Regions from separate parts of the Homo sapiens genome. Here all the other regions are linked to region 4. The links are contacts of gene promoters, found by promoter capture Hi-C in human tissues and cell types (Jung and others, 2019). All regions are on one chromosome and are shown on one strand. The core of a region is centred on a gene start or on the middle of the fragment in contact, and the rest is flanking DNA. Distances in the headings are between cores, read along the strand shown. Region 1 overlaps DYM (dymeclin). Region 2 overlaps DYM (dymeclin). Region 3 overlaps DYM (dymeclin). Region 4 holds the start of SMAD7 (SMAD family member 7).

Region 1 (3,190 bases), core at 74-2,573, 160 kb before region 4:
GGCCTTTGTTTGTAATAATTCTGCCTAACCACTATACACATTCACTAAATGCTCCCACAGTTGCCTATGAAACCATCTGATCATATCCACAAACCTAATTACTTTCTCTTTCAAAATCAGTTCTAATAATGTCAAATCAGTCTTTATTCCATCAGTGGTGCAATGAGGAACGTTCTTAGTAACCAGGCAATTGATATCCTTAAAAATGTCTCTGAGAGCCAGGCGTGGTGGTACACTGTTATCCCAGCTGCTCAGGAGACTGAGTCAGGAGAATCTCTTGAGCCCAGAAATTCAAGACCATCTCTTAAACACACACACACACACACACGAAAGAAAAAGAAAAAAAAAGTCTCTGAAAGACCATATTAATTTTTTTTAATCAGGACACACAGAACCATGCAAAGAATTTAAACTACATCCATTTGAAACACATTCTCCTTTGGAAGAAGTGAAAAGCAGAGTGGAGGTGAGGAAGTAGAAAGGACCTCACTGTAAGTACACAGTATAGAACCATATAGAAGTAAAAGCAGGATGTTAAGTTGGACTTATACCCAGTGCTCACTTTTCTGTCATTGTCGGAATAATGGGCCACTTATTTACACTTCACCTGTATGCAGTGAAAACTGCATTCTCAGGCTAAACATTTGACTATATGCTGTTATGCAGTTCTTAAAACCACATAAACAAATGCCTAAACATTTTTAAGTACACCTTCTAAATGATGGGAATGAAGCTTGAGTGCCTCATGTATATGACCTCTTTTACCATTCTTAATCCATGTGAGCTAGGATTATTATCCCACTTTACAGATAAGAAAATAAAGATGCTGAGAGGTTTCTCAGATGCTATTAATATACATTCCTGCCTAAGGATCATTGTCTTGGATAGTTATCACATGTTATTGCAGGGGGCTTTATGTCATTGGCCCTTTCGCCATCCCTAGGAGGAAGGGAGAGCAGGGCTAGAGAAGGGAAATAGTAGGCTTGAGATCACTTAGCTAGCAAGTCAGTCAACCAGGCCCTGAATCCAGGTTCTCATTCTATTAAATCCCGTGTTTTCAGCATTCACTTGGATAAACCTAATTAAGATTCCAAATGAGCAGGTTTTCCAACAACTTTTTGTTGAATACTATCATCCAAAATAGTGCTGGGCACACTGGAAATTCATTTAAAAAACATTTTAAACTCCTTTTACATATTTTGAAAAGATGCTGTGATAAAGATATAAATAACATCTCTACTGTGTGCCTTTTTCAGTACTTTACCTTCCCCATCTATCCCCCAAAGATCCCTGAAATTTTGGCTTAAACAAGCTTTTGCTACTTTCTTCTTTCATAGAGTTAACCTTCAGAAGTTAACTCTGTGAAAGACTGTAGAAGAAAAAAGTTGGTGGAGGAGACGAATCTACTGTTATTTTTAGTGGGCAGGGAGTTGAGAGTTGATTATTTTTGGTTAAGACATTTAGCAGCACTCAGTATCTCAGAAGACAGAAGTGGCTAACCTTGGAGCACTTTTAACGTCTGCAGAAGGAATTAGATAGATGTTTTTCAAGTGCCTACATTTTTATTACACACTGGTGCCTATCTCGCCCATCTAAAACATAAGGTGATATGATCAGGCTGAATTAAGCAGCAAGACAAGGTAGAATATAACACCAAACAAGAGAGAACATAAAATAAATTGTCTGGTTACCTAAGAAATGGCTGAATATGAGTAGAGGACAGATGCAATGAACTATAACCATTGTATAGTAAGGTACAGGCAAGAAATCTTGTTATCTCTGGACATTAGATCTTGTGTATTTCCAGACCTGACCATCCTTATCAAGCTCTAAACTAGCACTTTAGGCTACTGACTTGACAGTCCCACAATTGTTAAACAAGGTTAAATCATAATTCTTGATTTTCTGCAAAAACCAATGCAATATAAAATATTTTCTTCTATAGTCTTTCTTATCCCAATATATGACATCAATATCTACCCAGTTGCTTAAGGAAAAAAAAAAGAGTAAGAAAGGAGAATAATGAGAGCTCGTTAGAATACCGGTAGGAGATTGCAGATTTAAAGAATGTAATCAGGTGCGTTTGAGCCAAAACTTGAAGCAGGTAGAGAGTGAGCTATGCAGCTATCTGGGGACAGAGCACTCTAGGCACAGAGAATAGTGGGTGGGACGGAGTTATGGGGAACTGGCTGGGAAGGTGGAGTGAACATTCTGTGATAATGAGGGGCAGATGGTTACAGGGTATGCATATTTGTCAAAACTGGTTGAACTGTACCATTAAAATGAGTATGTTTATTTTATTGTATGAAATTGTACCTCAGTAAATTTACTACTAAAAAATAAATTCCCTACAGTGGACTTCTGCTTAGGATATAGAAAGCTAGGAAGAGTTCTACCCTAACAAAGAGAAAAAGAGGTAAACTACAAAATCATAACTTTTCTTGAACCTATCAATGAGCTGAGGTCACAGGACAACCAAATAGTCTAGATCCCAAGGAGGGGTCATCGGCCCACCCACCCCTCAAGTTGAGGTGAGACACCAGGACTGGATCACCTGTGGCAGAGCACAGGGGTAGGTAGCCACCATACAAGTGGGTAAAAAGAAATCAGATGCAATTTTAATAACTTGCTAAAGGTTGAGTGTGGAGTAGCATGACATTACAGAACACCCAGGAGACCCAAGCACCAGAGGAATTTGCACTCACAGGCTGTTTTCCACTGAGACTGGGGGCACAGCAGGAAGCCAGAGAGCCTCCCAAGGTGATGTACCAATAGAAAAATGCGTAGCATCATTCCCCTGCCAGACCTTTCTTTCATATGGTGCAAAAGCCTTAGATTGCTGGCAGGGGTGGGGGTGCGGAGGGGAGGGGGGTGCGGAGAGGAGGCGGGTGCAGAGGCAGGCACCAAACCTTGTTGCCCTCGGGGCATAGGTAGAGACCCATTATTGCACGTAAAAGATAAAACAAAAAAACTCTCTACTTCTGGGTAAAGGGCAGGAAACTGTCGCAGCCCCAGGGTTCTATAAGAGTACCATTAGAGGTATCCTACCAACAACTCATCACAGATACAGGGCAAAGTCTGGCTGCCATCGGAAGAAAGGGAAGAGAAAGCTAAGAAAGCCTTATGCCCTAGGCCCAGGCATAGAGAGCCCCATTTAAGACTGAGGTCTTAGGACAGCACGTAGAGAATC
Region 2 (3,475 bases), core at 511-3,010, 190 kb before region 4:
TTATAGTTATGTCTAGTCATTCTACTTCTGTCCTTTGAACTCATTGTAACAGTGACCAACCCAATAACAGCTTTGAGCATCTGTAACAACCAGATTTCTACTAAAAGGAACTGGGGATTTGTCCTGCCTTTCAAATAAGATAGTAACACTAGATGTCAAAATAGTAGATATGGAGAAGTTCCACTTTAGAGAAATATTCATAATTGAAAAAGAAATGATAGAATTAGAATATCACTATTTTGCAAACCCTAATTAGTAGATTCGAGCATTGAGCATTAGTGACTGCAAACTTACGTAAAGAGGGAACCATAGATTATGTTTCTCCTGATGTAGAACACACCACCATCTATGAAGTAGTCTTGCAAAAAAAAAACCCAAAAACTAATCAGACCAAGCCTCTAAATTTAGCTACCAATTTTCTGGGGAAACCCAGAACAGAGAAAAATTAAACATCACCAAAATCCAGGATGCAAGAATCTATATAGGACAAATAACCTGGTTTCTTCAACTAACAAATTGCAATAAGAAAGGAGAGAGAGAAAAACACATTAATGAAGACCAATTACACCATAGAGATTTTATTTGAATTCTCATTCTGCCTGTAAGAAACTTTTTTTAAAACCTAATTAGAAAGTTGAGCACTGGCTGGATATGTGGTAATTTTCAGGGATTACTATTAATTTTTTATGTGTGAAAATTGCATTGTGTATATTTTTTAAAGAATCTTTATATTTTAGAGATACTTAACCAATATATTTATGGTTGAAAGATTTGTTTGGACTTTGCTTCAGAATAACCCTGGAGAAGAGGAAATGAATGAGTATAAGGAAACAAGATTAGCCATGAGTTGATGGGCTGGGTGATAGGTACATGGAGGTTCATTATACTATCCTGTCTGTCTTTGTATATATTTGAAATTTCTCGATAAAGAAAGTTACAGAGGTTATACAGCGTATGAATATGCTTGGCGTCACTGAACTGTATACTCAACAGTGGTTACAATGGTAAATTTTATGTTTATTTCACCACAATTTTTTTAAGTTAAATAATATGAGTATTGGAATCAGAAAGAACTATATTTAACCTTTATGTGACCTTGACCTTACTTAACCTCTCTGATATTTGGTTTTCTCAACAGTTAAATAAGACCAATATCCGGCTTGCCAAATTTTATGAGAATTAAATTAAATACTGCATCGAAAGTACTTAGCAAAATATTTGGCATATAACAAGTACTGTGTAAATATTAGTGACCTTAATTACTACCACTACAGCTTCTACCACCTGAAAGATAGGAAGATATGCCCTTTATTCTCTTATCACCTAAAACCAAAGCTTATTACTGAGGAAGGCTGTTTAAAATTCTCTTTTCATTGCACTGTGGCATAAAGGAATAAACTTACACTGCAAGTCAGACAGACTTCACTCCCCATTTTAGGATTTACTAGCTATGCTGTGTTGGTTAGTAGTTACCTTAGAGAAGTTACTGTGCTCTCATGTATAAAGTGAGAATACTAGTATCTACTTTCCAGAATTGGATTGAATATTAATAATTATATGTGTAATGTTCTTGGCATAATGCCATGATCATAGTAGGTTTTCAGTAAATGATAGGTATGATCATATGATTGTATTCAAATATGATTATCATTGTTCAGGAATGGAAAGTAAGAAAAGGTCTTTTCCATATATTCTTCCTGAACGAAATTGATCTGAACATCAGAACAATCTTTCTGATTTAATTACGGGCTTTAGAATATATTATTAAATGGTATCTATTTTCTCAATTTTAAACATTTATAACTTTATTTAACTGGGGTTTTATCAATAGCACCTTATCATCTTTCCTATTAGGGGGATGATAAGTTGCTACTGTGTTGGTGATTGCAGCAGATTAAAAATAACTGGTAAGTGATGCCCAGGGTTAACCTATTCTTTGGTAAGTAACTTGAAAATTTTATACCAAAAAGGACTTGTTGTTTACCAGATGCAAATAGACAAAGTACTCTGCCTTTCCCTTTCTCTACTGGAGATTCAAGTCCAACAGAGATGAAGTCTGCATCTAACAGAAATGTTTTTAAAACAGACTCTGGAAATTTTTTGTCTGGAAAGAGACAAAAAAAGAATTGATTGTAGAAAATCTGTATTCTCAATACATGAGTAATGTAATAACATGCATCCTCTTTTTCAGAATGAAAGCAAACCCTTCAAATTCTCATTTCTTAAGTCATTGGTAAATCACTTCATATGTCCAAGCTTCAGTTTCCCCACCCAAGAGCAAAGACTCTAGATTAGAAATATCTGGATTTGAATCCTAGTTCTGTCTCTTAATAGCCATGTGACAGTGAGGAAGTTACTTAATCCTTTTGAGTTTCAATTCTACATCTGAAAATAAACACAACACTGTAATTAATTTGCTATAATTAATTATCTTTTAAATAGAGTAGATATAGTAGATGCAGAAGCAAAATATGGAATAAATACAAGGAAAACATCATCCATAAATATGTTTAAAACATATTGGCCAGGCGCGGTGGCTCACACCTGTAATCCCAGCACTTTGGGAGACCGAGGTGGGCGGATCACAAGGTCAGGAGATCGAGACCATCCTGGCAAACATGGTGAAACCCCTGTCTACTAAAGATACAAAAAAAAAAAAAAATTAGCCGGGCGTGGTGGTGGGCGCCTGTAGTCCCAGCTACTCAGGAGGCTGAGGCAGGAGAATGGCATGAACCCGGGGGGCAGAGCTTGCAGTGAGCGGAGATTGCGCCACTGCACTCCAGCCTGAGTGACAGAGTGAGACTCCATCTCAACAAAAAAAAGAAAACATATTTATTGATTTTATTCATGTCATATTTTGTCCCAGACATTGAGTCCATAGCGATGAATAGGCAGTCATGGACCTTGCCTCAAGAAGCTAGTGGAGGGAAAATAAACATCATTTAGCAATTAAAAATGGAGCTAAAATAACAGGGACATAATGCAAGAGAATCGCAAGAATCCTGTTTTAGATTTAGAGGCTTAGGATTCAGGGGTTTGCTCTCTGAGAAAGTGATATTTAACTGAGACCTGATGATGAATAAGAGTTGCCAGAGAAAAAATGAGGATAGAGTGTTTTTAACAGCATGTGTGAAGGCCTGAAGCAGGACGGAGCTCTGTTTATTCAAGAAACTGTTAGCAGGCCAGTATAGTTTGGAGTGTGGATAGTGGGGGAGAGTAGCATTAAATGAGTATGAAGGAATAGGTCATTGTAGGGCTATGTTCAAGGCCTGATGAGCCCATTTACGGTAAAGAGTTTGGAGGTTAGCCATAGTTCAGCATAAAGTCATTGAAGGATTTTGGGCACTAGAGTAACCTGGCCTGATGTACCTTTGAAAAAAGCACTGTGGAGAAGTGACTTAAAGGGCTAAGTGTTGAGGCTGGGAGTCCAGTTGTCAACATGCTGAGAGATTACAGTGGCTTGGAACTCAAGAGG
Region 3 (3,339 bases), core at 590-3,089, 210 kb before region 4:
TTAGCACTGATTCAGTAGGAGAGATGACTGTGAATCACTCCTGATAGAGACCTGAAAGGTGATTAAACAAACAGCAGTAACCTTAAAAATAAGCACCGTTGTATGTTCTTTCATGATACTTCAATGTTTTGTTGGTCATTCCCATTGCTCAAAACACTGTTGTATAAGTGATTTACACATTTGAAACCATTTTCTCTTTTACATTAGTCATTAACTGGGAAAATGAACATGTTCCTTCCTTTTCTTTCACAGAAGTTTTACTTAAGTACCTTTGCCAGTAACCACATAAAATTCTGTGTCCTGGACTAATGCTTTAAACCACTTGTTGGTAAAAGATGAAAAAGGAAAATGAGAAGGTCTTAATGCAGCAGTGGATTCCTAGATGTGTACTTTTTTTTTTTTTTTTTGAGACAGAGTCTCACGACGTGTACTTTCTACACCAAGACTGAATGTACTGTATTAGCAGAGTTTGAATAAGTACTTAAAAATAAGGACATGTTTTTCTTCTCACTGTAGTACATAGAGTACTTTCAGTCTACCTAGAGATTTCTAAGTTTATTAAGAAAATGTTTATCCTCATTATACTGTATAATTCACAAATCAGTTGAGTAACAACATAGAAAGCTAATCGCAAGTTCCAAAAACATTAGTATTAGTACTTTAGTGCAACTATGTTGGTCTGAACATCTCTAGGGAAACCTGAAACCTTCAACTGAGTTCCAGATAATGAGGAAACTGCCCTGGCTGTTTAAGGGGAAATAAAACAAAAATTGTACTCAAGCCTGTGGGGGGAGAGAATGCCACTACAGGGGCAGTAAGGGAGTTTAAGAAAGCAAATAAAGTTCCATTGACTTGGCTTTGCTTTGGTGTTTGTATGATCAGGATTACATACAATTTAATTCAGTGACTAACAGGGACAGGAGAGAATTGTTAAAGGAGAATCTTTCAACAGATTTTTTTTTAATAAAAATGAACTGAACTTTCAGAGAAGTTTGGTCATATATAACCAAATATGGAACCTGAATATAGAAAATGAAACAAAGATAATAAATCAGTTATGAATGCTTTTTAAGCTATAACCATATGAATATTTATAACCAATGAGGAATATTGTTACTGTACCATATAAGCTTTGTTTCCCTAGTTCCTAACAATTTAACTTTTATTCTAGTTGCAACCATAAGGAACCAAATTATATTGCCCTGTGGTCATCAAATAACTTTGAATCTTTCTGTAGGACTGACTCTACCACCTAACTCCAAAATGTAGAGATTGGGTCTCACTATATTGCCCAGGCTGCTCTTGAACTCCTGGCCTCAAGTGATTGTCCTGCCTTGTCTTCCCAAGGTGCTAGGATTACAGGCATGAGCCACTGTGCCCTACAGATAGCTTGCTTCTAAACTGTAACTTTCTAAAGAGTAAAAGCCATCCATATGAAATTTATTTTCATCAAGTCATGATCACTTATTATTATCATTCTATATGGAATTCTAAGATACCGTTAACTCTGGACTATATCACTGGCTGACCTTTTGACTTCATAGCTTTTATTAATAATCTTTTAGACCTTGTTTACAAACTTTTAAATCTGCTTTCAGACATTTAGTTTCTTCAGAAATGTATTATAGGATATTCTGATCTGATTTTCATATGACAAAATTTAAATTCAGAGATGTTTCTATTTTCCACCCCATCCTTTTTAGGTTGTTCTATTATTAAGATTCTGTGTGGTGTTTACTCTTTAACTTAGATCTCAAATTCATTTGACTCAATAGTTGATGGATAAATAATATTGAAAACTATCTTCAGTCAATTGTTTTGTACAATGTTTGTGCCTTTACTGAGCTAGTGTTAAAATGCCCCTTTGTACACACACGTACATAAATAATACAAAGATATACATACATATTGTTTGTATATAATGGTATTAGAGTATTCTTTTTTAAATTTTTATGGGTAGATAGTAGATGTATATATTTATAGGGTACATGAGATATTTTAATACCCACGTACAATGAGTAATATCAGGATGAATGGGGTAACCATTTATCCTTTCTTTGTGTTACAAACAATCCAATTATGCTCTTTTAGTTATTTCAAAATGTACAATAAATTATTGTTAGCTGTAATCACCCTGTTGTGCTATTATCAAATACTAGATCTTCTTGATTCTATCCAACTATATTTTTTTACTCCTTAATCATCCCCTCCCTGCCCCAACTACCCTTCGCAGCCTCTGGTAACCATCCTTCTTGTTAAGTGAAACAAGCCAGGCACAAACAAACAAACATCACACGTTCTTACTTATTTATGGGAGCTAAAAATTAATACAACTGAACTCATGAAGACAGAGAGTAGAATAATGGTATTAGTTCTTGATGGAAATGTCCCTTAAAGATTTTTCTGGAAGATTTAAAGGCTGGGGTAGGTAATTTAACACTTATATAACATGGGAACAGTTATCTTAGTAGGTATGCTGTCATATCCAAGAAGTTTGAAAAGCTGAAATTTGTTACTCTTAAAACAGCTCCTTTCACATGTTGTCACTTTTGACAATTGCTTTTGGGGGTCAACTTTTCATGCATTTATTCTAGTGATGATAACAGCAATCAGAATATTATTAAAACTTTTGTTTTACATTACTTTACCATGGTATAAGAGGTAAAAATGAAGAAGGCATAGTACCTACTTACAGGATAGTTAAAACAGATACACAACTAAAATACAATTCAACATATAACCAATTTTATAAAAGCTACAGAACCAAACTTGTGGGTTGTCAGAAGAGAAAGTGAGAGAGAAAAACTTTTAGGAAGAAGGGGAGGTACTGTGGCAGTCTTCATTGAAAGGAGTTGAAATTTGAGCTGGGTAATATTTTTCAAAGGAGAGATTCAGGCAGGAAAACATTCCAGGTGTTATGCTTCTTCAAAGAGGGCATGAAAGTGAAAAATGGTCTTGTGTCATTGTCACTGAGTTGTTTGTATCCAGCACAGTGTCTGGTGTATAATAGGTGTTCAGTAATTATTTGTCACCCCTCACTCATTCTATACACAAGAATTAACTCAAAATGGACCATAGACCTAAATGTCAGAGCCAACATTATACAACTTTTAGAATAAAATATGATTAAACCTTCATGACTTTGGGTTAGGCAAAGACTTCTTAGGTGATGCCAAAAACTCAAGTGACAAAAGAAAAATAGATAAATTAGACTTCATCAAAATTTAAAACTTTGTGTTTCAAAGGATGCAATTAAGAAAGCAAAAAGACAATCTACAGAATGGGAGAGGATATTTGCAAATAATCCATCTGATAAGGGACTAGTATCTATAATATGTG
Region 4 (3,370 bases), core at 529-3,028:
CTGAGGTCATATTCACGCCGCCTCCCCGCCCTCGGCGGCTGTTCCCCTCAGCGCACACTTCCCAGGGCCTCGGTCCAGTCCGGTATAAATGTCTTTTAAACCGAGACAGCGCTCTCCTCCCCTTGCCCTCGGGCGCGGCCAAGGGATCCACCGCCAGGGCCTTTAAAACAAAACCAATGAATGAAGCGCTAGGGCGAGCGCGCGCGAGATGGCCACCGCGAAACCCAGCCGGGTCGAAATCGGGCCACCGACCCGCTCGCTCAGCTCCAAAACTCGCGGCGAAGCCCGCTCGGTGCTCCCTGCTTTTCCAATTTCTCCATGGCTCCGGCCGGGGCTCAATCCATTCTGGGAGCTTCTCTGCCCCCCACCTATCTCTCTCCCCTCCATCGGTACCCCCTCTACAGACCCGGGAGGGGGTGGCGGTGGCGGGGGGTTGGGGGGAGAAATAGCTTTTAGAAACCCGATCTGTTGTTTGCGAAACACAATCGCTTTTTTTTTTTTTTTAAAGCGACAGGGTGTCTAGACGGCCACGTGACGAGGCCGGAGCCGGGCGCGCCACTGCGCAGTGGAACCAGCCGAGCAGAGGGCCGGAGGGGGGGTGCGGGGGGGCGGGGAGGAGGCGGCGCGGCTGCGGCGGCTGGGGGCGGGGGAGGGAAGGGGGAGGAAGGGGGAGGGAAGGGGGCGGGGGCGGGAGGCCTTGCGGGAGGCGGTGAGCCCCGGGCACACTCGCTTGCTGCTCGGCGCACGGAAGATCCTGTCCCCGAGCCGCGCCAGCCGAGCCAGCCGGGCGCCGTGCTCGGTCCGCTCGCCGCGCGGGAGAGAGCTGCCCGAGACAGAGCCAGTCCGTCGGCGCCGAGCCGCCGAGCGCCCGGCCCCTGAGCCCCTGAGTGCGGCGCGGCGAGCCCCTGGCGGCGGCAGAAGGACCGGAGCGCCAGGAGAGGGCGGACCGGGGACAAGGAGGCTCCCGGGCGCGACGAGGAGAGTCTCGGAGGAGGAGGCGCCGAGAGGACACCGGGGCCTCCTGCCGCCGCAGCTGGGTCGAGGCGAGCAGCCCATGCGGGGAGCCTCGGCGGCCAGCCGCGGCCAGGGGAAGGGACATCGGCGGCCCCTGCACTAGCAAGCAGCTTGTGCCCGGGGGGGGCGAGAACGCGCGACCCGTCTGGGGCCCTCCGCCGCCGCCGCGCCACCCTCCCCCGCGCTGTCAGCCCCGCCGGGCTCAGCCGCCGCCGCAGCATCTTCTGCCCCTGCGCCCGCGCCAGCCTCGAGGAAGTCCCCGCCGAGGACCTGGGCCCCCAGGAGCGCAGGGGGAAAGACCAGAGACTCCCCTAAACCACCCAGATGCGCAGGATTGAAGCGGTCTAGCCAAAGCTTTCTGTGGATTAAAAAAATACACGATTTTTTTTTTTTTTTTTGGCAGAAGAAAAGGAGAGGAAGACCAGCGGGGCTTTGCAAGGAAACGGGGGGATGTAACTCGTGGATACATTTTTCCACCCATCAAACATCTTGTTATACTTTGTAAACATTTTCTTTTTTTAAACCCCAGTTCCAGCCGGACGCCCCCAGACCTCTGAGGTTCGAGGAGGTGGTGGTTTTCATTTGGGGCTTTGCATATTTGGTTGTTAGGTTTTGCGAGAGCCTTCTTATTTTGCCAGACGTCTCATGCGGGGTGAAGTCCACTCGGCCCCCTCCCCTGAGTCTTCGTGTGCGCGGAATTCGAGGAGATCCGGTTACTAAGGATATAGAGGAAAAAAATAAATCGCTTGCTTTTTTTTTTTTAATTGCCTGCTTCTCCCCACCCCCAAATTAAGTTGCTTAGCAAGGGGGAAAGAGGCTTTTTCCTTCTTCCAACAGCCCAGCCGAACGCCTTTCGTTTTTTGCCCCCGCGGACCTTCCATGTAGGAAGCCGAGGCTGGCGAGCCCGACATTCGGGAGCCACTGCGGGGGGGCCTCTTTTTGGGGAGGCGCCGACGGGGGCAGGCTCGGCCGTCCCCAGGGAAGCGGCGGCCGGGTTCCTCCGGGGCGCGCCGGGGCCGGAGAGCCGCGCAGGGCGCGGGCCGCGCGGGGTGGGGCAGCCGGAGCGCAGGCCCCCGATCCCCGGCGGGCGCCCCCGGGCCCCCGCGCGCGCCCCGGCCTCCGGGAGACTGGCGCATGCCACGGAGCGCCCCTCGGGCCGCCGCCGCTCCTGCCCGGGCCCCTGCTGCTGCTGCTGTCGCCTGCGCCTGCTGCCCCAACTCGGCGCCCGACTTCTTCATGGTGTGCGGAGGTCATGTTCGCTCCTTAGCAGGCAAACGACTTTTCTCCTCGCCTCCTCGCCCCGCATGTTCAGGACCAAACGATCTGCGCTCGTCCGGCGTCTCTGGAGGAGCCGTGCGCCCGGCGGCGAGGACGAGGAGGAGGGCGCAGGGGGAGGTGGAGGAGGAGGCGAGCTGCGGGGAGAAGGGGCGACGGACAGCCGAGCGCATGGGGCCGGTGGCGGCGGCCCGGGCAGGGCTGGATGCTGCCTGGGCAAGGCGGTGCGAGGTGCCAAAGGTCACCACCATCCCCACCCGCCAGCCGCGGGCGCCGGCGCGGCCGGGGGCGCCGAGGCGGATCTGAAGGCGCTCACGCACTCGGTGCTCAAGAAACTGAAGGAGCGGCAGCTGGAGCTGCTGCTCCAGGCCGTGGAGTCCCGCGGCGGGACGCGCACCGCGTGCCTCCTGCTGCCCGGCCGCCTGGACTGCAGGCTGGGCCCGGGGGCGCCCGCCGGCGCGCAGCCTGCGCAGCCGCCCTCGTCCTACTCGCTCCCCCTCCTGCTGTGCAAAGTGTTCAGGTGGCCGGATCTCAGGCATTCCTCGGAAGTCAAGAGGCTGTGTTGCTGTGAATCTTACGGGAAGATCAACCCCGAGCTGGTGTGCTGCAACCCCCATCACCTTAGCCGACTCTGCGAACTAGGTGAGAAGTTGTCCCCCTACCCCCAACATTTTCCGGAGCGCCAGTGCTGGAAGAAAAGCCCCTAGGGCAGTGCGTTTGTGCAGCCATCCCTCCAGGGGGAGTGTGCATACCCTCCTGGGAGAGTGTGCATACCCTCCTGGGAGAGTGTGCATACCCTCCTGGGAAGAGACTGGGGGCTGAAAGTAGAGAAGGGACAAGGGGAAACTCAAAGGGCATTCCCTGGGGGTTCCCTTCCAGGTTTTCTCCTGTGTTGCCCCGAAGGGGTCTACGGGCACTGCTCCTGCAGTCTGCGGTTAAAAATTAGACGCCTTCATTTCCGGATCAACAAGGGGGTGCAGAGGGAGGTGGGGGGGTCACGCCTCCCCGCACCCGGAAAGACGTTGAGGTGTGTGGCCGAGTTGGATTTGGTCCAGGCCCGCCAAGGAAGGCTGGGAGAGGC

Evidence for each region. The method cuts DNA at HindIII sites, captures the fragments that hold promoters and counts their contacts. A contact is called where the count stands out against the background at its distance.
Region 1: a contact is called between a fragment that was not itself captured here and the fragment with the promoter of SMAD7 in region 4, in 1 of the 25 tissues and cell types used here (lymphoblastoid cells).
Region 2: a contact is called between a fragment that was not itself captured here and the fragment with the promoter of SMAD7 in region 4, in 1 of the 25 tissues and cell types used here (mesenchymal stem cells).
Region 3: a contact is called between a fragment that was not itself captured here and the fragment with the promoter of SMAD7 in region 4, in 2 of the 25 tissues and cell types used here (IMR-90 fibroblasts and lymphoblastoid cells).

Annotation. Positions count from the first base shown.
Region 1 is chr18:49,111,809-49,114,998 of GRCh38, reverse strand. The region is part of intron 16 of DYM (dymeclin); the gene reads left to right. Among named protein-coding and RNA genes, the nearest start is that of MIR4744, 64 kb to the right of the region's middle. The HindIII fragment of the contact is 3,387 bases long and covers 1-3,016 here.
Region 2 is chr18:49,141,208-49,144,682 of GRCh38, reverse strand. The region is part of intron 15 of DYM (dymeclin); the gene reads left to right. Among named protein-coding and RNA genes, the nearest start is that of MIR4744, 93 kb to the right of the region's middle. The HindIII fragment of the contact is 3,239 bases long and covers 141-3,379 here.
Region 3 is chr18:49,157,645-49,160,983 of GRCh38, reverse strand. All of the region lies in intron 15 of DYM (dymeclin), which reads left to right. Among named protein-coding and RNA genes, the nearest start is that of MIR4744, 110 kb to the right of the region's middle. The HindIII fragment of the contact is 9,195 bases long and covers 1-3,339 here.
Region 4 is chr18:48,949,373-48,952,742 of GRCh38, reverse strand. SMAD7 (SMAD family member 7) reads left to right here and starts at 1,778. Exons shown (of 4, transcript NM_005904.4): 1 at 1,778-2,931. The coding sequence starts at 2,319. RefSeq lists silencers at 1-34, 605-1,304, 2,521-2,840. The HindIII fragment of the contact is 10,376 bases long and covers 1-3,000 here.